2 separate regions of the Homo sapiens genome follow, and region 1 is linked to region 2. The links are contacts of gene promoters, found by promoter capture Hi-C in blood cells and fetal thymus (Javierre and others, 2016). All regions are on one chromosome and are shown on one strand. Each heading gives the region's core, a stretch centred on a gene start or on the middle of the fragment in contact. The rest is flanking DNA. Distances are from core to core; before and after follow the strand shown. Region 1 overlaps GLT1D1 (glycosyltransferase 1 domain containing 1). Region 2 holds the start of TAOK3 (TAO kinase 3).

What was found. The method cuts DNA at HindIII sites, captures the fragments that hold promoters and counts their contacts. A CHiCAGO score of 5 or more calls a contact.
Region 1: a fragment that was not itself captured here is called in contact with the fragment with the promoter of TAOK3 in region 2 in 1 of 17 cell types (M0 macrophages); the score reaches 6.5 in M0 macrophages.

The regions. Positions count from the first base shown.
Region 1 is chr12:128,854,677-128,858,804 of GRCh38, forward strand. The region is part of intron 1 of GLT1D1 (glycosyltransferase 1 domain containing 1); the gene reads left to right. Among named protein-coding and RNA genes, the nearest start is that of GLT1D1, 3.3 kb to the left of the region's middle. The HindIII fragment of the contact is 488 bases long and covers 2,355-2,842 here.
Region 2 is chr12:118,370,512-118,374,683 of GRCh38, forward strand. It overlaps TAOK3 (TAO kinase 3), which reads right to left and starts at 2,396. Exons shown (of 21, transcript NM_016281.4): 1 at 2,137-2,396. RefSeq lists silencers at 1,236-1,325, 1,426-1,485, 2,270-2,519 and an enhancer at 2,840-2,889. The HindIII fragment of the contact is 12,374 bases long and covers 1-3,088 here.

The sequences.
Region 1 (4,128 bases), core at 1,349-3,848, about 10 Mb after region 2:
AATAGAGACAGGGTTTCACCATGTTGGCCAGGTTGGTCTCGAACTCCTGCCCTCAGGTGATCCGCCTGCCTCGGCCTCCCACAGTGCTGGGTTTACAGGTATGAGCCACTGTGCCCGGCCTCCTCATCATTAAAATGAGCAATTGAGACTCCACCAACACTTTCATGTCCCTTTCAGCTAATTTCTCCTAAAGATCATAAGCAGAAATGACCAAGAGAGGATCCATCAGTTTTCTGAAATTTGCTGGAAAATTTACACTCAGGTTTCATGGTGCAGGTTTCTATTAAATAGGTCAGTGATGCTCTGCTTGGGTTTAGCAGTGAGGAGCCCTTTGTGTTCCTGGCTCTGTTGGATGAACCAGCATCCCAGTATGGGAGAGGAATGAAGGAGGTGATTTCACATAGGGATTAGTGCTATTAAGAAAGCAAAACTAGGAGGCTGAGGCAGGAGAATCGCTTGAACCTGGGAGGCAGCTGTTGCAGTGAGCCAATTGATCTGGGATCACGCCACTGCACTCTAGCCTGGGTGACAGAGCCAGACTCCATCTAAAAAAAAAAAAAAAAAAAACAACAACAACAACAAAAAAAACAAAAAACCTAGGGCAGGCTTTCATGGCGGCTCAAGCCTGTAATCCCAGCACTTTGGGAGGCTGAGATGGGAGGATTGCTTGAGCCCAGGAGTTAAAGACCAGCATGGGCAACATGGTGAAACCCTCATCTCTACAAAAAAAAATTTAAAAATTAGCTGATGTGGTGTGTGCATGCCTGTGGTCCTAGCTACTCAGGAGGCTGAGGCAGGAGGATCAGTTGAGCCCAGGAGGTTGAGGCTGCAGCGAAGTGACATTGCACCACTGAACTCCAGCCTGGGTGGCAGATCAAAACTCTAAAAAATAAAACAAAACTGTTAACGGAAAGAGGTCCTGATCCAGAACCCGATAGAGGGTTCTTGGATCTTGCACAAGCAAGAATTCAGGGCGAGTCCTTAAAGTGAAAGCAAGTTTATTAAGAAAGTAAAAAAATAAAAGACTGGCTACTCCATAGACAGAGCAGCCCCAAGGGCTGCTGGTTGCCTTTTTTTTTTTTTTTTTTTTTTTTGAGACAAAGCTTCATTCTTTCGCCCAGGCTGGAGTGCAATGGCGGGGTCTCAGCTCACTGCAACCTCTGCCCCCCGGTTCCAGCGATTCTCCTGCCTTACCTTCCGGAGTAGCTGGGATTACAGGCGCCTGCCACCACACCCAGCTGATTTTTGTATTTTTAGTAGAGACAGGGTTTCACCATGTTGGCCAGGCTGGTCTCGAACTCCTGACCTCACGTGATCCTTTGGTCTTGGCCTCCCAAAGTGCTAGGATTACAGGCATGAGCAACTTCGCCTGGCCTTGGTTGTCCATTTTTATGGTTATTTCTTGATGATATGCTAAACAAGGAGTGGATTATTCACACCTCCCCTTTCCAGAACATATAGGGTAACTTCCTGGCATTTCCATGCATTTGCAAACTGTCATGGTGCCGATGGGAGTGTAGCAGTGAGGACAGCCAGAGGTCGCTCTCGTTGCCATCTTGGTTTTGGTCGGTCTTGGCTGGCTTCTTTACTGCATCCTGTTTTATCAGCAAGGTCTTTATCACCTTGTATCTTGTGCCGACCTCCTATCTCATTCTGTGACTTAGAATGCCTTAACCATCTGTGATTGCAGCCCAGTAGGTCTTAACCTCATTTTACCCAGCCCTTATTCAAGACTGAGTTACTCTGGTTCAGACGCCTCTGACAAAACTAGATAAAGTGATTGAGAGGCATGATGATGGCTGAGATGCTTTAGAGAATGTGGTCTGGGAGGCTGTCTCCGGAGATGACATTGAAGCTAAGACCGAAAAGAGGCTGTCACTGAGATCTGGAGGGATGGTCCCAGGAAGGAATAATGGTGAGAACACAGGTCCTGAGCTGTGTGAGAAGCAGAAAGGCAGCCAGGGTCACTGGACTATAGAGAGTTTGGGGCCAGTGCTAGGAAATGAGTCAGAGAGAGAGGCCAAATCTGGCTTGTACATGTGGTGGGGAAAACACTTTGTGCTTAAGAAGTAATTACCACTAAAAAAAACAAGAAAACAAAAAAAGATGGTGAAACCCCATCTCTGCTAAAAATAAAAAAATTAGCCAGCTGTGGTGGCACAGACCTGTAATCCCAGCTTCTCGGGAGGCAGAGGCTCAAGAATCGCTTGACCTGCAAGGCGGAGGTTGCATGAGCCAAGATGGCGCCACTGCACAACAGCCTGGGAGACAGAGAAGACTCCGTTTCAAAAACAGAAAAGAAAATCAAAAACAATGTTGAGTGACCGAAGAACCTGAACGGGCACAGAGTTAGAAGCTTCAGGCAAAAAGGAAATATTACCTGTTATTTAATATTTTGCTCCTAACTTGAGCTGTAAACCCACATCTTCCAAGGGCCCAAACTCACATCCACCCACAAGGTCACGTTACTTTTGTCCCAACTCAGAGGTGAATTAATAGAAAAAATAACTATGTTAGCTGCCGTCCTGAGATTCACTCCCCCATCATTCTGTTGGTGGTGCACTTTTGAAAGTGCCTGTCTTGCTAGGCCTTGGGGCTACAAAGGGGAAGGAGGCGGGCAGGGTTTATGCAGAAGGTTGACTTCAGCTAAACTGGAGTGGAGGGCCATTTAGTCACTTCGTTCTTTCTTTTCCTGGCTGTGCAGAAGCAGAATAAAGGCTGCTATTCAGGCTTTGATGTTTATTCAGACCAGGCGTTTGTTGTCCTTCACCTCAGGAAGGATTGCTGGGGGAAGAAAAAGAAAAAAGCAGAAGTTGCTTGAAGACATCTTCTGCCTTGTGAAAGCTTAGTCTCCTTGAGGAAATGATGCTGGTGTCCTGGACGGGCGGGGAGGGAGGTTCCCTTGGTGACTGAGAGTCCCTGTGATCTAATCAGCAATGAGCAGTGAGGACTGGATGTTCTCCTCCAAAATCTCTGCCAAAGACCCCGGAGACCACCTTCAACTGACCCTGGACACTTGGTGAAGGAGTTCCCCAAATACGTAAATCTGGAGTTCCCATCAGCCTGGCAGAATAGGAGGTCAGAATTAGGTAAGACTGAATTTAAAGAAAAAAAGAAGGGGTTCTATTCTTGCACAAGTTGGTCATTGTAAAGCAACACCCCATCTATAAGTAAGGGTGCTAAATCCTCATGAATGTATTGGCCTGGGAAGCACAGAATCCTCTGGGGACATATAGGTGGGGACCGATCCCAGATCAGAGGTCAGGGAAAGCCTTCTCGTGCCTTCCAAGCCCATTCCCTGTTGAAAAATGGCAAGGTCCAGACCAAGTTTGCTTTGTGGCTCAGTGTTCTTTTTCATAATGAGGATGCCAATATGGGTTGTGAATGGAATTAAAAGAGTTAATACACTTTCAGCGTTTTTAAAGCAGTGTCTGGAACATAGTGAGGACTAAGCTCTGATTTTTTTATCTTGCCCAAATTCCTGTCTAAGGGGTCTGGGAGTCATGCCCTACAAACCATAAAATCCCATCAGATGGGTTTTATTTGACACTGTATATCGTGACTTACCTTCCAGTCTGACTCTGGCATAACATTATGAGACAAGAAAAAAAATCAAAATATTTAACCCCAAAACATGCTTCTGTGCCATATCTTGAAATGGCCCTGCAGAGCCATCCTTTGTGGGAGGAAAATCTGCATCTGTAAAGAATTTCTGCCGGGCCTGGTGGCTCACGTCTGTAATCACAACACTTTGGGAGGCCAAGGCAGGTGGATCACTTGAGGTCAGGCATTGGAGACCATCCTGGCCAACATGGTGAAACCCCGTCTCTACTAAAAATACCAAAATTAGCTGGGCGTGGTGGCACACACCTGTAATCCCAGCTACTTGGGTGGCTGAGGAAGGAGAATTGCTTGAACCCAGAAGCAGAGGTTGCAGTGAGCTGAGATCACACCATTGCACTCCAGCCTGGGCAACAGAGGGGGACTCAGTCTCAAAAAAAAAAAAAAAATCTCCATTAACATAGCTAGATCTTTTTCTTCCATGCCCTCCCAATCCTGAAGAGATTAACTAAAAGTCTAGCACCTTTTAAAGATCTGAAGAGGAAAAATTTGTCATTTATTGTTTCT
Region 2 (4,172 bases), core at 1,146-3,645:
CATTCCTCACTATTTTCCTAAAACCATCATTTTCGATGTCTGCTTCTATAAAAAAAGAAACCAGTCCAAGAGGTGAGGAGATACAACCTATAAACATTGAAAAGGAGGTTTTAAAAATTCAAATACAAAACTGCTGGGTACAACCATAACAAAGCATGTGCATTCGAGTTTGAAAAGTAGGTAGGGCAGTATTAACATATCCTAAGTACTGTGAACAACTAGCCTGATCATTAGTTTAATTTTCACATCCCTCAGAGTAGGAGGCTGTCCCCCAACTCCCACCCCCTATTGCTTCCCACTATTTGTTTCAACCTTTTAATAGATACACTTGCCTCCCACCAGGACACACAGTGTCTGGTTTAAATAGGTTTATCTCTCTCCTTAGCTTGTCCTGGAATTACGCCTAAAGCTCAATCCTGGCAGCTTTTAGGATAAGAAATCTAATTGGAAAGAGCTCTTAGTTTTGCGACTCCAAAACCTCTTTTGAAAATTTAGTTTGACCTTCCAACTATCTCCAACAGATCAAAGTTAAACAGTCCAGATTCCAAACCTAGTATAGTTCCTTTAAATCTGCATTGTAAACATTGATACTGATATGCTGCCAAATCTAAAAAAGTTTCTTAGCTCCTTGAGCTAAAATGAAAAACCAGTAGTCCAGGAAAACGCAAGGGTCTATCAAAGAAATATTCTTATTAATCTAAAACACGGGTCTCCAAAAGGATCCCTGTCCCTTTCAACTTCTTGTGGAGGGGGAAGTGGGGGAGGTTTGAAGAAGCCCCTTCCAACTTTTCACCTGACCTTTTCATTAAGATCAGGAAGCCCCTCGCTTTCAAGACATCCACATCAGACTCTAAGGAACGAATGCGAAGCCAGCGGGCCAGTGAGAAGAGGTCAGGCCGCGCAGGTCTCTTGATCATTCCAAGATCTTTGTCCTGCAGCCAGCCCCACCAGCCCCTCCAGCTCCTCCAGCCCATGCGTTTCACTTCAGAGATGTTTCATGACATAATCCGGCTCCGGAGTCCCCCGGAGTCCCGGGGGCTCACACTCCACCCTCAGGGAGGTCGCTGATGCCAGACCCTGGGAGCACCTCCCCGCTCCACTCGTCTGCGCTGCAGCCGGTTCCTATTTGCCCGACGCCGCGACTGCGACCCAGGCTCCCCGCCGCAGCCGTTCTTGGGGGGGCTCCCGCAACTCAGCGGGCGCGACCCCCCGCCCGCTCCCTCGCTGCTCACGCCGGGCCCCCGCTATGTGACTGGGGGCCCGACCCGCACCCATGGGGCACCGCTCCTCCCTCGGGGTCCGCGCCTGCACCCGACGCTCAAAGCCCCTCTCGGAGTCCCACGCTCGCATGCGCTGTCCCGAGCCCTCTGGGGGTCCCCTCCTCTCACCCCGCTGTCCTGGCCCCTCTCGGGGTCACCCTGCTCCCACCCGCTGTCCCGGCCTCTCTCTAGGTGTCCTGCTCTCAGCCCCGCTGTCTCAGCCCAGCCCCCTTCCGGGACCCCTCCTCTTCTCCCACTGTCTTGGCCCTTCCTGGGGTCTTCTCACACTCTGTTCTAAGCCCTCTGGGGATCCCCTGTCTTCACATCCCCTGACCGGTCCCCTCTCTTTACTCTGTCCTGGATTCTCTCTGGGTCCCCTCCCCTCACCTCGGGGTCTCCTCTCCCCGGGTGCTGTCCCAGCCCCTCTCGGGGTCCCCATCTCTCAGACTCTCAGTGCCGGCCCCTCTCGGGGACCCTTCCCCTCTCCCCGCTGTCCCTGACCTTTTCTGGGACCTGGTCCTTCAGGGGACCCCCTCCCCTCATCCCCCTATCCTAGTGCCTCATGAGGCACCCACCCCTCACCCCACTACCCCAGCCCCTCTCCGGGTCCCTTCCTCTCACGCGCACTGTCCCGGCCCCTCTTGGAGACCCCTCCCCTCAGACTTTCAGTCTTGGACCCTCTCGGAGTCCTCTCCACTCAGAGCCACTGCCTCGGTCCCTCTCGGAGTCCCCTCTCCTCACCCGCTGTCCCGGTCCCTCCCGGGGTCTCCTCTCCACAGTCTGCACTGTCGAGCCCGCTCCCGCAACTCCCCTCACTCTGCCTGGGGTCCCGCCGCCTCGGCTCCCACTGTCATGCCCCGCGCCCCGGTGCTCTCACCTCAGACCTGCTGTCACCACCCCCGGGCCCGGCGCCGCCGCCGCCGCTTCCTCTCCCACACTTGTTCCTGAGTCGCTCTCCTGTGGCTTGTTCCCCGGCGGATCCTTGGGTCCGGTCGCTGAGTGCCGGATCCGGCTGTGCGCAGCCTCTGCTCGCGGTCTCGGCGTTGCGTCCCACTCTCCACGCAGGACCCCGCCGCCCGGCGCCACAAGGACCCTCCCGCGGCCGCCGCCGCTGCTGCTGTCCGAGGTGCGGCTCCTGCCAGGGGTGGCCAATCGCACCGGACTGCGCCGAGCACGCCCCGCCCCACCGTCTCAGTCCGCCCGCCCCCTGCCCCGGACCACGCCCCAAGCTCGGCTCCAATAGGCTCTCTACTGACCTTCCCTGATCGCGGGGCACAGGGCCGGGGCCGTATATAGGTATTTGATTGATGGAGCCTGGGAAGCCGAGCGGTCGATGGAACCCGAGGATTGGCGGAGTTGTCGATGGGCGGGACAGGGCAGGGCGGGGTCTCCTCAGACGCGGAAGACCTTGCAACTTTAGTAACCTACGGGCCCGCCTGGGGTGCGGTCAGTCTTGTTTGTGCTGCTCTCCGGTCAAAGTTCATGGCGCTTCTCCCCACGCCTTTACTTTTCTTGGGAGATTCCCAGGGACCACCATGTTAGAGCCTTTGGGGAGGACCCCAGTCTCTCGCTAGACCTTGCACAGCTTTCTTAGTAATTCTGCCATGAACTAATATAGCATTAATTTGCCCAGGATTTGTAAAAATTTCCTGGATTTAAACCATTTCTTTTTAAAATCTCTTGCAAGGGAGTTGCCTCTCCTTGAATTGAGTTCAGCAGCCGTCAGTTTGATACCGTTGGGGGAAAAAAAATCTATATACAGTACTAGGTGCATACTTTGCCCAACTAAGCGTTCAATGCGGGGCACATTTTGATAGGTGCAAGGACAAAGCTTTAGAAATTTTCAGTTTGTAGGTTTTTATGACAGTAGGAAGACTGTGGTAGGGGAACCCTATTATTAGCTTAACAAGGTTTCAGCAAAGCTATTCAATATAACCTTTTTCCAGGGCCACAGGTTTTAATGATTCTATGTGAACGTGTGGCCAAAGGATAACGAGCTTTGACCCAGGTTTAACATGTGATAATCAGAGACTCCTCTTGATCCACGCTAAAGGATAGTGCCTGCCAGGGGTGAAAGTGCATCATGCTACTAAGACCCATTTGTGTTATTTTTGTGAAACTGGATATGCTGATCAAATCAACACCGGAAACAGAAAACTGCTTTCCTTACTCTTAACGCCAAAAGTAAGTTTATGGACTTTAGAATTTAGCATTTTATGAAGAAATTGTCTCAGGAACACATTTTGATCCTAAGTTTTGTCAGATGTATACAGGCCTTAGTTCTCAGAGAACCCTCGATTGTTAACTTTTTAACTCCAGCTGACAAAATGTGTTTGTGTTCTAAACAGTATACATGTTTCTTCTAGTGTTTTAAGAATCATACGCCATTCATCACCTGAGGTCAAGGGTTCCAGACCTGCCTGGCCAACATGGTGAAATCCCGTCTGTACGAAAAATACAAAAATTAGCCGGGCATGGTGGCACCCACCTGTAATCCCAGCTACTAGAAAGGCTGAGGCAGGAGAATCACTTGAACCCGGAGGCGGAGGTTGCAGTGAGTCGAGATCGCATCACTTCACTCCAGCCTGGGTGAAAGAGCAAAACTCCGTCTCAAAAAAAGAAAAAAAGAAAAAGAAAAAAAAGAATCATACTCCATTCCAATTGTGATGTCCCCCTTTAAAGTTTCAGTTTGGGTGTTAGGGTAGGCAGAGAAGGCCTGGAAGCAAAGAAGTTGTGGAAATGGGGCTGGCAGGGCTTCGTTTCAAGTCAAGTCGAGTTCCTGAGCGGTGTGGCTGAGTACCGTTTTGAGAAGGGATATATAAAAAGATTTCAAGGTGGTAAAACTTGGTTTTGAGGGAACTTGATTTTTACAGGAGTATAGCGACTGTCCAAAATCATATTAAATAAATCTAA